Linked DNA regions of Homo sapiens: all the other regions are linked to region 2. Evidence: promoter capture Hi-C in human tissues and cell types (Jung and others, 2019). All regions are on one chromosome and are shown on one strand. Each heading gives the region's core, a stretch centred on a gene start or on the middle of the fragment in contact. The rest is flanking DNA. Distances are from core to core; before and after follow the strand shown.

Region 1 (4,266 bases), core at 1,451-3,950, 130 kb before region 2:
TTTCTCTTCCTTGTGTTCCTTTGTTAAATACAGACACTAGCAGAGAACACACACCACTACTTTGCTTCTTTCTAACAGATGCCCCTAGCCATGCTGACTCAGTAGTAGATAGCATGGGGCCTGCTATCCTCAATATCATAGGCCCAGTTTACCAATTATCGTAAGACCAATTATCATCTTCAGCCTCCTAATGTCAGGATCCTCACTTGCTATGCAATATTTCCATATTTCCATTTTTAGTATGGCAGCATGTCATTTCAAGCTATCCATTTCTAGAGTTGTTAGAGCAAGTAGTACCATACATGGTCATGCCTGGCTCTGACAAATAACTGAGATTTTAGTGACAGCACAATAATCATTTACTTCTCATTCATATCACTATCCATGGCAAGTTGGTGTCTGTCTTATAAATGTTGACTCAAGGATCCAGTGTCCTTCCATCTTGTGATGCTGCCATCTTCAATATGTAGCCTACAAGATTTGCTAGAAAGGAGAGAGATAGGAGGAGTGTGCAGTGGAGAAAATCATGGGACAGGCCTGGAGGAGTCACACAATTGCTATCAGGTACGTTTGTTCCATTGACCTTAGCTCAGTCATATGGCTCCAACTAGAGGTTAAGGGGGCTGGGAAAAAAATCCCTTATCTCTGTTACCATGAAGAAAAGGGAAACAAAGATGTTGGTGAACAGTAACTCATTAACGAACCCCTCTCCAACCCAGACCTCTGCAGAATTTTTACCTTTTCTCCCTAATGAACTTTCTAATGTCATGAATTGGAGCTTCATGCAGTGTTGCTGCCTTGGTTTCTCCCACAAAAATCAATCCTTTGGAAGTTAAAGAGCAAAATATTTTTGAGAGGACACAGAGGACTAGTCAAGGGAATGTCATAACTGTGTTCCAGCAAAGTTGGCTATAAAGTGAAAACTTCAGTTTAGTTCTAATATTGACTTCAATTTACAATAAGAAATAGAATGCCCTGAAAAAAAAAAAAAGTCCTTCAACATACTCAATTGAAGACTTCTCCGGATAAGTGTTAAATTGATTTTTTAAAGGCCATTCTCTGAACTATGTGATATTTTCACAATTCAAGAGTCTCCTTTCTTTTTTTACTTCCTCCCAGAACTTCCCCTATGGTATCTCCCATGTCTATGGATTCTTGCCTCACTGTACATTTACCAATACTGGAATTTTTGAGTATTATAATGGCCAAGAGGTGTATTGCAATACCACTCTTAAACCAGTGGGTGATGCTATATAACATGGCCTCTTGTAGCCTGATAAATCTTCAAAGAGGGCTTAATAGGGTCAAGTTAATACCTATGAACCTTAGGTATTAATTAGGCTCATTAATTAGGTTCATGAACCTTATTTCATGAACTCTGTAAGGATACAGTTCTGAGAAAAGTAGCTTAATACAAAAGATATTTCAGAGCTTAACCCTTCCAGATTAATATAATAACATCTTAGCAAAGAAAAACTACCTAGGTTCTTCATCTGAATCAATTATAAATTCAGCATGAAAGTGGCTGACTTCATTCGGGGCTGGATATAGATGAAAAAAGAAAGAGGCTTGAGGATATGTAAGAAGGGCAAGCTTCTTTTAATTGAATGATCCACTGGAGAATGAAAAGGGATCCCTGCAGGAAGTCCTGCAATTTTAGGTTACTGCAAGTAGGACTGGAAACATCTCTGTCTTCAGGTGTTGAGGAATTAGACATATTAAAATAGGAGGATCAGAGCTGGAGGGATGGGACTGCTTTGGGGAAGGTATTCTCCAAAGCATTTGGTACACAGAAATGTCCTTATGGGAGCCCTGCAGCAGGTTGGGCTTTTAACATGATAACAAGGGTGCTGATGGACATTTCTATCCATGCTCTGGATGGAGACCCAGAAGTCCAGCTTACCTGTTTGTTTCTCACTCAAAACTGGAAGAACAAAATTCAGAGCAATCCTGACAGAGAGCTATAGTGCACTGATAAGATAAAATTCAAGAGAGATAAATTAAAACCCCACATTTAGTGTCACATCATTTTCACTAAAGGATGAAGCTTAGTAATTCAGAGAAGAAGATCTAGTTGATATTTGGTCATGCATGGCTCTTGTTCATTTATTAAATTAATGTATTTTGATTGTGTAGCCAGGTGCTATGAGCCAGAGATATGTTTCCTATCCACATGGATAGTATAGCTTTGATATGAATCAAAAATAAATAGGATCTTAGATTGCAATAATGGAAAAGTTATTTCAGGTAATTTAACAAGCATGTATTAAGCACCTACTGCATGCTAAACTGTGTCTTAAAGAATGGGAGGTGCTATGGTTTGAATATTTGTCCCCTCCAGAATTCACATTGAAACTTAATCCTCAATGTGGCAGTGTTGAGAGGTGGGACTTTTACCAAGTGACTGGGTCATGAGGTCTCTGCTCTCATAAATGGATTAATCCATTCATGGATTAATGGATTAGTGGGGTAATGGATGAATGAGTTATCATGGGAGTGGGACTGATGGCTTTATAAGAAGAGGAAGAGAAACCTGAGCTGGCACACTCAGCCCCCTCACCATGTGATGCCCTGCACTGCCTTGGGACTCTGCAGAGAGTCCCCACCAGCAAGAAGGCCCTCACCAGATGCAGCCCCTCAACCTTGGACTTCTCCTCTTCCATAATTGTAAAAAATAAATTCTCATTCTTTATTTATTACCCAGTTTGCTATATTCTATTATAAGCAACAAAAAACAGACTAAGACAGGAGCTGAATGCTGAATGACAGAAAAAGGTGTGAACAATCATCTGATAAATTTCAATATAAAATGCTTAATCAGGATTTCTTTAATTTTTCCATTGCCATGATGATGGAAAAGAAGTAGCAAACATATCTTTGAAGTCTTTCATTTTATTTTTTAAAACTATATAAGAGTTACACGCCATACCACAATGAAAAAATATATATTTTAATATTCAATAATAATGGTTTTACTGAATTGAGGGTAGGAGCTGATATTTTTAATTTGTATAAAAATGCATTTACAAATAAAAATAATAGTTTGAATTAACTCTAGACATATGTTATTGTCCTACACAGGAAGAAAGAATAGAAATGTGAATTCTTCTAAAACTAATATGTAAATTTAAAGCAATTATAATTGCAGTGCCATGTTTTTTCTTTTTTCTTTTAATTATTTTTTTCTTTTTAGAGACAGTGTCGCACTCTGTTGCCCAGGCTGGAGTGCAGTGGTGCTGTAATAGCTCACTGCAGGCTTAAATTCCTGGGGTCAAGAAATCCTCCTGCCTCAGCTTCTTAACTAGCTAGGACCACAGGCATACATCACCATGCCCGGCTCATTTTTTTTAATTTATTTTTTGTAGAGATGGGGTTATCGCTATGTTGCCCAGGCTGGTCTTGAACTCCTGATCTCAAGTGATCCTCTTGCCTCAGCCTCCCAGATTGCTGTGATTACAGGCATGAGCCAATGCACCAGGCCTAATGCCATGTTTTTTCAATGGGGCAAAATTAATTTAAAGTTTATCTAGAAGAATTAATGTCCAAGAAAAGTCAAGAAAATTTGAAAAGGAAGAGTGAAGAAGATTACTTTCTCAATATTAAATATTGTTTTTAAGCTATGTAGTTACGGCTGGGAGTGGTGGCTCATGCCTGTAATCCCAGCACTTTGGGAGCCTGAGGAGGGAGGATCTCTTGAGCCAGTTCAAGACCAGCCTGGTAACATACTGACATCCTGTCTCTAAAAAAATATATTTTTTTAATTAACTGGGCATGATGGCGTGCACCTATAGTCTCAGCTATTTGGGAGGCTGAGATGGGAGGATTGCTTGAGCTAGGGAGGTCGAAGCTGCAGTGAGCCATGATCATGACACTGCACTCCAGCCTGGGTGACAGAGTGAGACCCTGTCTCAAAAATAAATAAATAAAATAATATTTTTTAAAGCTATGTTATTAAAACAGTATATTATGCATGAAGAGAGGAATCAGAGGAATAAACTAGAAAGTCCTGATACAGATCCAAGTTTATTTGGGGAAATTTATATGTGAAAAAATGGTATTTCAACTCAGTGTGATTAGGGTGATTTATTTGATATATTGTGTTGACATAATTGGCTATACATCTGGAAGAAAATGAAATTAGATCCTACGTCATCCTTCTCTTACACACGCATACACACAGTCATACACACATACACCATAAACATATCAATTCCATCTTGATTACCTATCTAATAAGAAATTGACACAATAGAAAGTTAGAAGAAA
Region 2 (3,979 bases), core at 52-2,551:
TCCAACTCCTGGGCTCAGGCAATCCTTCTGCCTTAGCCTCCCAAGTAGCTGGGGCTACATGCATGCACTAATGTCTAGCTAATTTTATTTTTATTTTTGGAGAGACAGGGTCTTGCTCTTTCACCCAGGCTGGTCTTGAACTCTCAGCCTCAAGTGATCCTCCCACCTTAGCTTCCCAAAGCACAGAGATTACATGCCTTTCCCTCAAGCTACTTGCCATCTCATCTTCCTTACTATATTAAAAGCAAAGGCTCCGGACATGGACTACTGGGGTTGGATTTCTGGCTCTGCTCTTTAACAGCTATGTGATTTGGACAGCTGGTTTCTTTCTGTGCCTCAGTTTCCTCATATGTAAAAGGAGGATATGAACAATGGCTTCCATGCCTGGCCTTCTTTTTCACTTTATAAATAAGTATACTTCTCTCCTTTCTGAATGTGGGAATAATACATTGTTTATAAATTTAGAAGTTGGAAACTACAAAAAAAAAAAACACAAAAAAAAGAGAGAGAGAAAGAAAATCATTACATTATTCCTAATCTCATTTGATGTACTTTGGCCTATTTCTTTCAGGCACTTTTCTGCATGTACCTTTTTTCCATAGCTGAAACCATATTGTATAAATAGCTTCAGATTCTGGTGGGGTGGTTTTTTCATGTAGTAGAACAGGTGTTTTCCCAAGTCCCTGAGCTCTCACTCTGCACACCCCATCTACCATTTCCCAGTGATGTGGCTTTGGGCGGTTGCTGCAGTTTGCTATTACACAAGTAAGCATGCAACCCACACCTGGGGAGAGAACTTTCTTCTCTCCTGAATCTCGGCTCGCATCTTTAAGCGCCACCCCATTAGACAGGAGGCAGCAGAAGCACAAAGCTCCATGAGTAACTCCTCTCCCTTTTGGAAAAGTTCACAGAAAGCAATTTTGGAGACCTTGGCAACGTTTAATTATGAACATTTAGAAAGACAACGGATCTCCTCATATGCACTGGGACTTCAGGGCCAGGTCTTCAGTTTCATGATTCGCATGATTCGCAGGGCTCCGGCACAGGAGCAATCTGAAAGCTGGGCTGCAAGCCCAGCGCGGTCTGCCTCCTGAGGCCCCGACCCACTGCGGCGGCGGCGCTGGGCCCCCTTACCTGGGCAGCGCCAGGGCCTCCTCCGTGCGGCCGAGGACGCCGAACACCGCTGGCAGCGCCAGCACCCCGTCAAGGTCGAAGACGGCCGCGCGCAGCGTCATGGCGGCGGGTCTGCAGCCTAGCACCCGGACACGCAGCTAACCTGGGAGATGCGCGAAGGCCAGGGCGCATGACCCGCCCAGCTTGGCCCGGCTCTGCCCCGCCCCTGCCCTGGCCCCGCCTCCTCCCCACACCCCCTTAACGGGACTCCGCCCTCTGCCCGGGTTAAGGCTGGACTCTGGCCGGGAAAGAGGCAGGGGGAGGGGCACAGGAAAGGGAGTCAGAGGGAGAGGAAGAGGAGGCCGGGAAGGCGGGGACCCCAGGCTAGAATCTCGCCTCTGGATGTAACGCTTTCTACTGTCTCAAAGGAAAGTCCAAAGTCTCTTATGCCCCCTCCCCACGCCCCTGCAGTAGCTGCTTGAAGAGGCAAACCCAGGCCCGGGCCTTCCTGGACGGACTGACAGCTCCCTGCGAACTTGCTGGACTTGGAATGCCTGGGAAAGAGGCCACAGACTCTGTGTGTGTGTGTGTGTGTGTGTGTGTGTGTGTGTGTGTGTGTGTGTGTGTGTGTCAGCACATCCAGTGACTTCTACATTCAGAACATAAGACCGTGTTGGGGGGCGGGGGAGGGGCATATCCAGTGACTTTTCTAGATTCAGAACGAAGGATCACAGATCCCTCACTATCCTGACCACTCCTCTAGGCACGCTCTTCTTTGCCAAGGCAAATGTGTTTCTAGAATAAAATATGATGTTCCAGCTATCGTGTGCCAGCCCAGAATACTTCGATTTCAATCTCTTGTGGAATGAAGCTTAGAAGAACTAAATGTAGGCTATTATTTTCCTTTTGTACATGCTACTTGTAATAATTCTGTCTTAAAATGTGCGAGGTTTGTTTTTAATCACCGATTTCCACACTATTGGCTCGTTTATGTTCCTAGAAAAACTAAAACTTTGGCTGGGAGTTCTTGAGCTGTTGTAGTGCAGCTCCATGAATTAAAAACCGTGTCTTTGGTGGAGACCAAACAGAGTGAGTGAGGTCTCCAACAGTGGAGAATTTACTCTTGAATGTGTCTCTGTGGATTTATCCAAGATACCCTCCACCACGGAGCTTCAAGAACCTTGTGAGGGGTTGTCAGATACCTCACTGTAACTGGGAGGTCTACAACAGTCTCTGGATCTAGCAATCAACAACAGGATTGACCAGAGCCGTGGGTTTCCTCTGGGCTGTTTGCCCTTAGCAAGCTATGCTGTTGCTTCCTTCTCTAGCTTGGTAACCTCTTCCAGGCTCCTGCCTGGAGCAGTTATTAGTGTTTTCTGAGATTCTTGCCAAAGAAGCAGAGAGTGGCCAACACTGCCAAATGTTACAGGAAGAACTGAAAAAAAAGCTGTCCAATTTTGGACTTGGATGACACCGGATGTTTCAGAACACTTTTTGTGGGCCCTTTATGGTAGAAACTGGATTACTCTGGATTTGAAGACTGAAAGATAGGCAGAGAAGGGAGTACAGCAAGCTAGTTTCTCATGAAGTTAGTTGATCTCAAAGGTATAATTGAATTTTAAAAAATAGAAAGAAAATTGCAGCCTGACCTATATAGTATGAAACCTGTTAAATCTCCAGATTGGGCATGGTGGCACACACCTGTAATCCCAGCACTTTGGGGCTGAGGTGGGAGAATTGCTTGAGGCCAGGAGTTTGAGACAAGCCTGGGCAACAAAGCAAGACATTCTCTCTATAAAAAATAAAAATAAAATATTAGCTAGGCATGGTGGTGCATGCCAGTAGTCTCTGCTATTCAGGAGGCTGAGGTGGGACGATCACTTTAGCCCAGGAAGTGGAGGCTGCAGTGAGCCATGATTGTGCCACTGCACTCCATCCAGCCTGGGTGACACAGCAAGACTCTACCTCCAAAAAAAAAAAAGAAAGAAATTAAATCTCCAACTTAGAGTTTCCTTTGGGCTCCAGACTTGCCAACTTCTTACTCAACATCTTACTCAACGTCAATATCCAACTTCTTACTGAACATCTTCTCTTGAGTGTCTAACAGGCATCTCAAATTTATCATGGCTAAAACAGAACTCTCTCTGCATTTCTACTTCCCACGCCTGTTCCTCCTAGTGTGTTCCCTATCTTACAAACTGGCATCCCCATTGACTCAGTGGCTCAGTCCCGAGACCACGGAGTTGCTTCCAGATCCTTGGCTCCCAGCCAAACCATATGTTCGTGTTTCTAGCGGTGGCCTGCTGATTGAGGCAGAGATAGCAGCTTCTAGTTCTATGGTGGTGTTTTCTGGGAGTCCTTCCTAAAGGCTCAGTCTGGAGCTCACTCCTCCATTCCGTTCAAAGATTGTGTAGGCTTGCAGTCTCTCATCTTAAATCCCTTTCTTCTGTTTCTATTTAAAATAACTACAGTGATTTCTGTTGCCTGCATCTGAATTCTGCATCTAGCACAGTATTGCTTATGAATACGTAAGTATATTTATACAAGCAGTAAAGTGTAGAGGAACGACATACCTACAGAACTAGATTTCATAAAGCCCCCTTTTGAGAAGAAAAATTTAAAAACATAGAAATATGAGTTTTACTTTCCTCTTTGGTTAAGAGAAAGCCATGAAGCTATCACATGGACTTTTATTTATTCAGGAGCAGTTAACTTGTAAATAGCTCTGGTGTGGAATATTTTTATAATGCCTTGTGAGTTACAGAGCTTTCTGGCTGAATTGCTTAGGCAAAGATTAAAGGTCTCAATTGCATTTCACTGCACTTTGCCCTTTTTCATGGTCGTGCTTCTCCTGTGTTTTCTGCTA
Region 3 (4,630 bases), core at 1,883-4,382, 250 kb before region 2:
ATCCGATCCTCTACCCAGGCTTAGCACAGGGTCTTATGCACATGGATATTTAATGAATGCCCATTGAACCTCATTATGGCTTTACTCAGTTGTGTATTATGGCTTCTTGCGGAACACATTGTGTTCAGTCGTGCAATCAAGACAACATAATTGGGCACCACATCCAGCCTGATTTCCCACTACTTTATTTGAGAACCTACCTGAGTTAGCTGGATATTCAGCAAGTCATTAAAGATACCATCTCTGTCTCTTTGCTCATCCCACTCTCTGGATCTGAAATGCCCCCTCACTCATCCTGCCCACTTGATTGGCTTGGTTTGGGTTCCGCCTTGTCTGTGAAGGGTGCCCTGACAGCTCCTGCCCACACTGATGTGTTTCCTCCTTTGAATTCCTGTAGCGTTTACAATCTGAGCTGTATACCTCAGCTGTGAATCTTATCAGATCTTGGCTGTAGGTGAATTTCCCCATCTGAAAAGTAGGAATAATGCCACCTGTCTCGCCAAGTTATTGTGGAGGTGGTGACATGAAACAAGTAGGAGAAAGCACTTTGTAAATTATAAAGTGCTGTGCACATCTTTTTTATTGTTTATAAATATTCATCCTTTGAATGTTGCAATCTCCTTGAGTGCAGAGATTATATCTAATAGCTCTTGTGTTTCTTCTAAAGCCCCTGAGCAGTGCTGGATACACAGGAAATGTTCATCAAATATTTGTTGACTGGATCACCATATTTTAAATGTGTGTGTGTGTTTTTTTCCTTCTAGGAGCTATTCATCACTAATGAAAGTTGAAAATATGTCTTCAAATCAGGTATGTTCAAGTGGTTTGCATGAATGTTTGCCTTGAAATAATTCACTAAGGGTTTTTAATAATTGTGTTACTGGCCATTATTGCCTTACATGTTGCAAATAGCTAACCATGATTTGGCAACCAGGACACCACTCAGGCTGGATTCTTTTAGGCACTGCACCTCCTTCCCTGTGGACTTTCTCATTTGTGTTGTTAAGTAGGTCATCTCAGGGAAAGAGATTGTCAGAGCTTGTCTACTGTGGCGTACAGGTCTATTCATTTTATATTTACAGGACTTTATTCTTTATTTCCCCTCTTTTCTGGTTGCAGGCATGCAAAAGTGCCTTTATTTATTAGTGTTCTTTATCACTGTGACTGTAGAGTCCATATTATAATTGAATGAGAACAAAATTATCACCTTCAATTAAAATAACTTACCCTAAGATCTTATGTGACTCAGTGAAGCCTAAGTGACAAAATTGTTTGTTTTCATGTTCCTTAGGACCTGGGATAGAAACAGATGGTGACCTATGACATAGTACTGAAAGGATCTTCTTAACATTGCGTCTAATTATTTGATTGGAACTATGTCAGAGAATTATTGTCCTTGAGGGCTGTCTTTCCCAAAATTTATCTTGAAGTGTCTAGAGATAGCACAATTTAGCTGCTATTGAGCAGTCTGCAGAAAATGGAAACTGGGTGGATGTATTTGGGATTTTGCATGTTTTATAGTATAGTTTAAAAATATAGTCATCCTTCAGTATTCATGGGGGATTGGTTCCAGGACTCCCCGAAGCTACCAAAATCCTAGGATGCTTGAGTCCCTTGTGTAAAATGGAGTAGTATTTGCATATAACATATGCACATCCTTCCATATACTTTATCTCTAGATTACTTATAATACCTAATTAGTGTAAATGCTATGTAAATAGTTGTTATACTGTATTTTTTTAATTTATATTATTTTTATTGTATTTTTTTAATTGTTTTTTTCCTCTAAATATTTTTGAGCTGAGGTTGGTTGAATTCACAGATAAAGAAATCAAGGGCCAACTGTAACAGAATTTAAGATCCCTTACAAGTCATCTAGTCAAACCTCAGATTTAGTGCATGAATTAGAAGTAATAGGATTTTACATCTTGTTTATATCTACATATTCTTCTAAAAATTTGTAAGAACAACATTCTTATTCCCATCTCTATGAAGAACTAAATGTACGAGGCTCCTTTATGAATCAGAGATGTTTCTTTATAATTTATTCCTGAAAAATTCCAGAATAGCATTATTAAATTAAATAGAGCTTTGAATTTGAAGTTTAGAGACTTAACTGTCATGTGCTAATTGAGGTGGGGGGGATTAAACATCCCTTGGGCAAGGGAACGTTGTCACAGTGGTTGGGTTAGATCCTAATAAAGTCATTTAACCTCTCTGAGGGAGTATTCATCATCAGTAAAATGGACACATATTATTTCACAGGGCTGCTTAGAATTGAAGCAAAGACACATCGATGTGAAAGTCTTCCTTGACCTACTTTGTAAATAGTCATACCTTATCCAGATAGTCTTTGGTTGCTGTTTTTCCAGAATATCATTATGAAAAGATGAGATGTGTTTAATCCTTTCTGGAAGCTAATTTTAGATTTCTTGAAACTATTGGAACAGTTTAACACTAAACAGTAGTCTTCAACATACCACAACTCAGATGCCATTGTTGTGGTTATTTTGCTTATTGAAGTTTTCTGTGTTTTAGAGGCACTTTCCACCAGAAATCTAGCCCCCATATTATTTCATGACCTTAGTCATTTTATTCTCATCATTTTGGATTTTTAAAGCTTGTATATAATTCTAGAGTTGAGAAATAAACAAATACACACACACACACACACACACACCTACCTACCGACCTACATACATACATATACAAACACCATCTGATCAGTGACAGATGTTAAAAGTCCCGAGACTAGGAAATTGAATTTGTAGCCCAAAAGATTGCTAATCTTTCTACCCTAACTCTCCCTCTGTTGCTTGCAACCCCTGTTCCTGAGCTCCAAGTATGAATCAAGTTCAAGATTCCAAGGAAGTTTTGCACTGGGTGTTTTTATTCTCTCTTTCAGTGAAAATGTTTTCCTAGTTTTTCTCCATACTTTAAAAGAATAGACTAATTCTCCTTGTAACCGTCTTCTGTTAAGGGATACAGATGTTTGTGTTTTGTTTTGTTTTGTTTTGTTTCCATAAGTTATTGGGGTACAGATGGTATTTGGCTACATGAGTAAGTTCTTTAGAGGTAATTTGTGAGATTTTGGTGCATCCGTCACCCAAGCAGTAAACACTGCACCATATTTGTAGTCTTTTATCCCTCACCCCCCTCCCACTCTTCCCCCTAAGTCCCCAAAGTCCATCGTATCATTCTTACGCCTTTGCATCCTCATAGCTTAGCTCCCACATATCAGTGATAACATACAATGTTTGGTTTTCCATTCCTGAGTTACTTCACTTAGAATAATAGTCTCCAGTCTCATCCAGGTCACTGCAAATGCTGTTAATATATTCCTTTTTATAGCTGCATAGTATTCCTTTGTGTGTGTGTGTGTGTGTGTGTGTGTGTGAGTGTGTGTATACACACACCACAGTTTCTTTATCCACTCGTTGATTGATGGGCATTTGGGTTTGTTCCACAATTTTGCAATTGTGAATTGTGCCACTGTAAACATGTGTGTGCAAGTATCTTTTTTGAATAATGACTTCTTTTCCTCTGGGTAGATACCCAGTAGTGGGATTGCTGGATCAAATGGTAGTTCTACTTCAGTTCTTTAAGAAATCTCCTTGCTGTTTTCCATAGTGGCTGTACTAGTTTACATTCCCACCAGCAGTGAAGAAGTGTAAGTGATACAGATGTTTTATGATCCAATTTAGAACGTGATCAGTTGATTTTTAAGTTAAAGGCAAGTGTTTATGTAATATAGGACTTAAGTTTTAATTTAGCATATACAGGTTCATCAAGAAGAATAATTACTGTAATTCCAAAACATAGCCCCAGACAAGTGGGGACTCTGCACATCTAACTCACAGCCTTTATAGGGAATGGCTTACTTTCGTTGATGACAACCCAGACTGTCTTACTGAGTTGTTCATCCTCAGTGTTTGGGATCTAAAGCTGGCATTTGAAGATACTAAATGACTCTTTCAAACATTGCTACTGCTTTTATTTCAGATTAAGACTCTGGGGCAATCATAGTCTTTGCGCCTGGATATAACACAATCATTAGTCTGTTCTTTGTACAATTATCGAAGGCATTTTTACCTTGGCTTCAGTTCATCGTGCTAATGGAAGAGAACCACAGAGAAAACCACTAAGTGAAGTTGGAGCTAAAACCAGACTTCACAGGAACCAATGTTTTCTACCCATATCGTATTTCTCTACCATCTTTAATAAGGGCCATTTAGATAAGCCTTAGTCTGATCCCTTTCTCTAACAATGCTGGTGTTAAGCAATGGGAAAGAGAAAAAAGATAAAACAACTGTAGTGTTCAGATTGTGACATTGGCAAGCAAATCAGAATGCACACTCTTAGTGAATGTTGTCCAAAAAGGAGTCAGGGCTCTACCTTTGTGTGTGGCCTTCAGGACTTGCTTGTAAGCCACACAATAAAATCAGTCCCTTTGTGCTGTATACCATTATGCAGGTTTTTTAAATTAAAAAATGTGGCAAACCAACTAAGTTGGTAAACTAGCCTATGTTTGACTTCCTGATGGCCTTTCCTATTAAAAAAGAAGAAGAGATCAAAGCCATGTTGTGAAGTCACAAATCTGTGACAATGTTGAGGCTCAAATTACTGGAAC

Evidence for each region. Contacts are between HindIII fragments. The study calls those that stand out against the background at their distance.
Region 1: a fragment that was not itself captured here is called in contact with the fragment with the promoter of EPHX2 in region 2 in 1 of the 25 tissues and cell types used here (spleen).
Region 3: a fragment that was not itself captured here is called in contact with the fragment with the promoter of EPHX2 in region 2 in 1 of the 25 tissues and cell types used here (dorsolateral prefrontal cortex).

What each region holds. Positions count from the first base shown.
Region 1 is chr8:27,621,872-27,626,137 of GRCh38, reverse strand. No RefSeq gene overlaps it. Among named protein-coding and RNA genes, the nearest start is that of CLU, 9.3 kb to the right of the region's middle. The HindIII fragment of the contact is 5,581 bases long and covers 1-4,266 here.
Region 2 is chr8:27,488,465-27,492,443 of GRCh38, reverse strand. It overlaps EPHX2 (epoxide hydrolase 2), which reads right to left and starts at 1,301. Exons shown (of 19, transcript NM_001979.6): 1 at 1,135-1,301. The coding sequence starts at 1,235. RefSeq lists a silencer at 1,218-1,497 and a cis regulatory region at 3,244-3,558. The HindIII fragment of the contact is 8,102 bases long and covers 911-3,979 here.
Region 3 is chr8:27,736,652-27,741,281 of GRCh38, reverse strand. It overlaps CCDC25 (coiled-coil domain containing 25), which reads left to right. Exons shown (of 9, transcript NM_018246.3): 8 at 765-810. Among named protein-coding and RNA genes, the nearest start is that of CCDC25, 34 kb to the left of the region's middle. The HindIII fragment of the contact is 4,304 bases long and covers 981-4,630 here.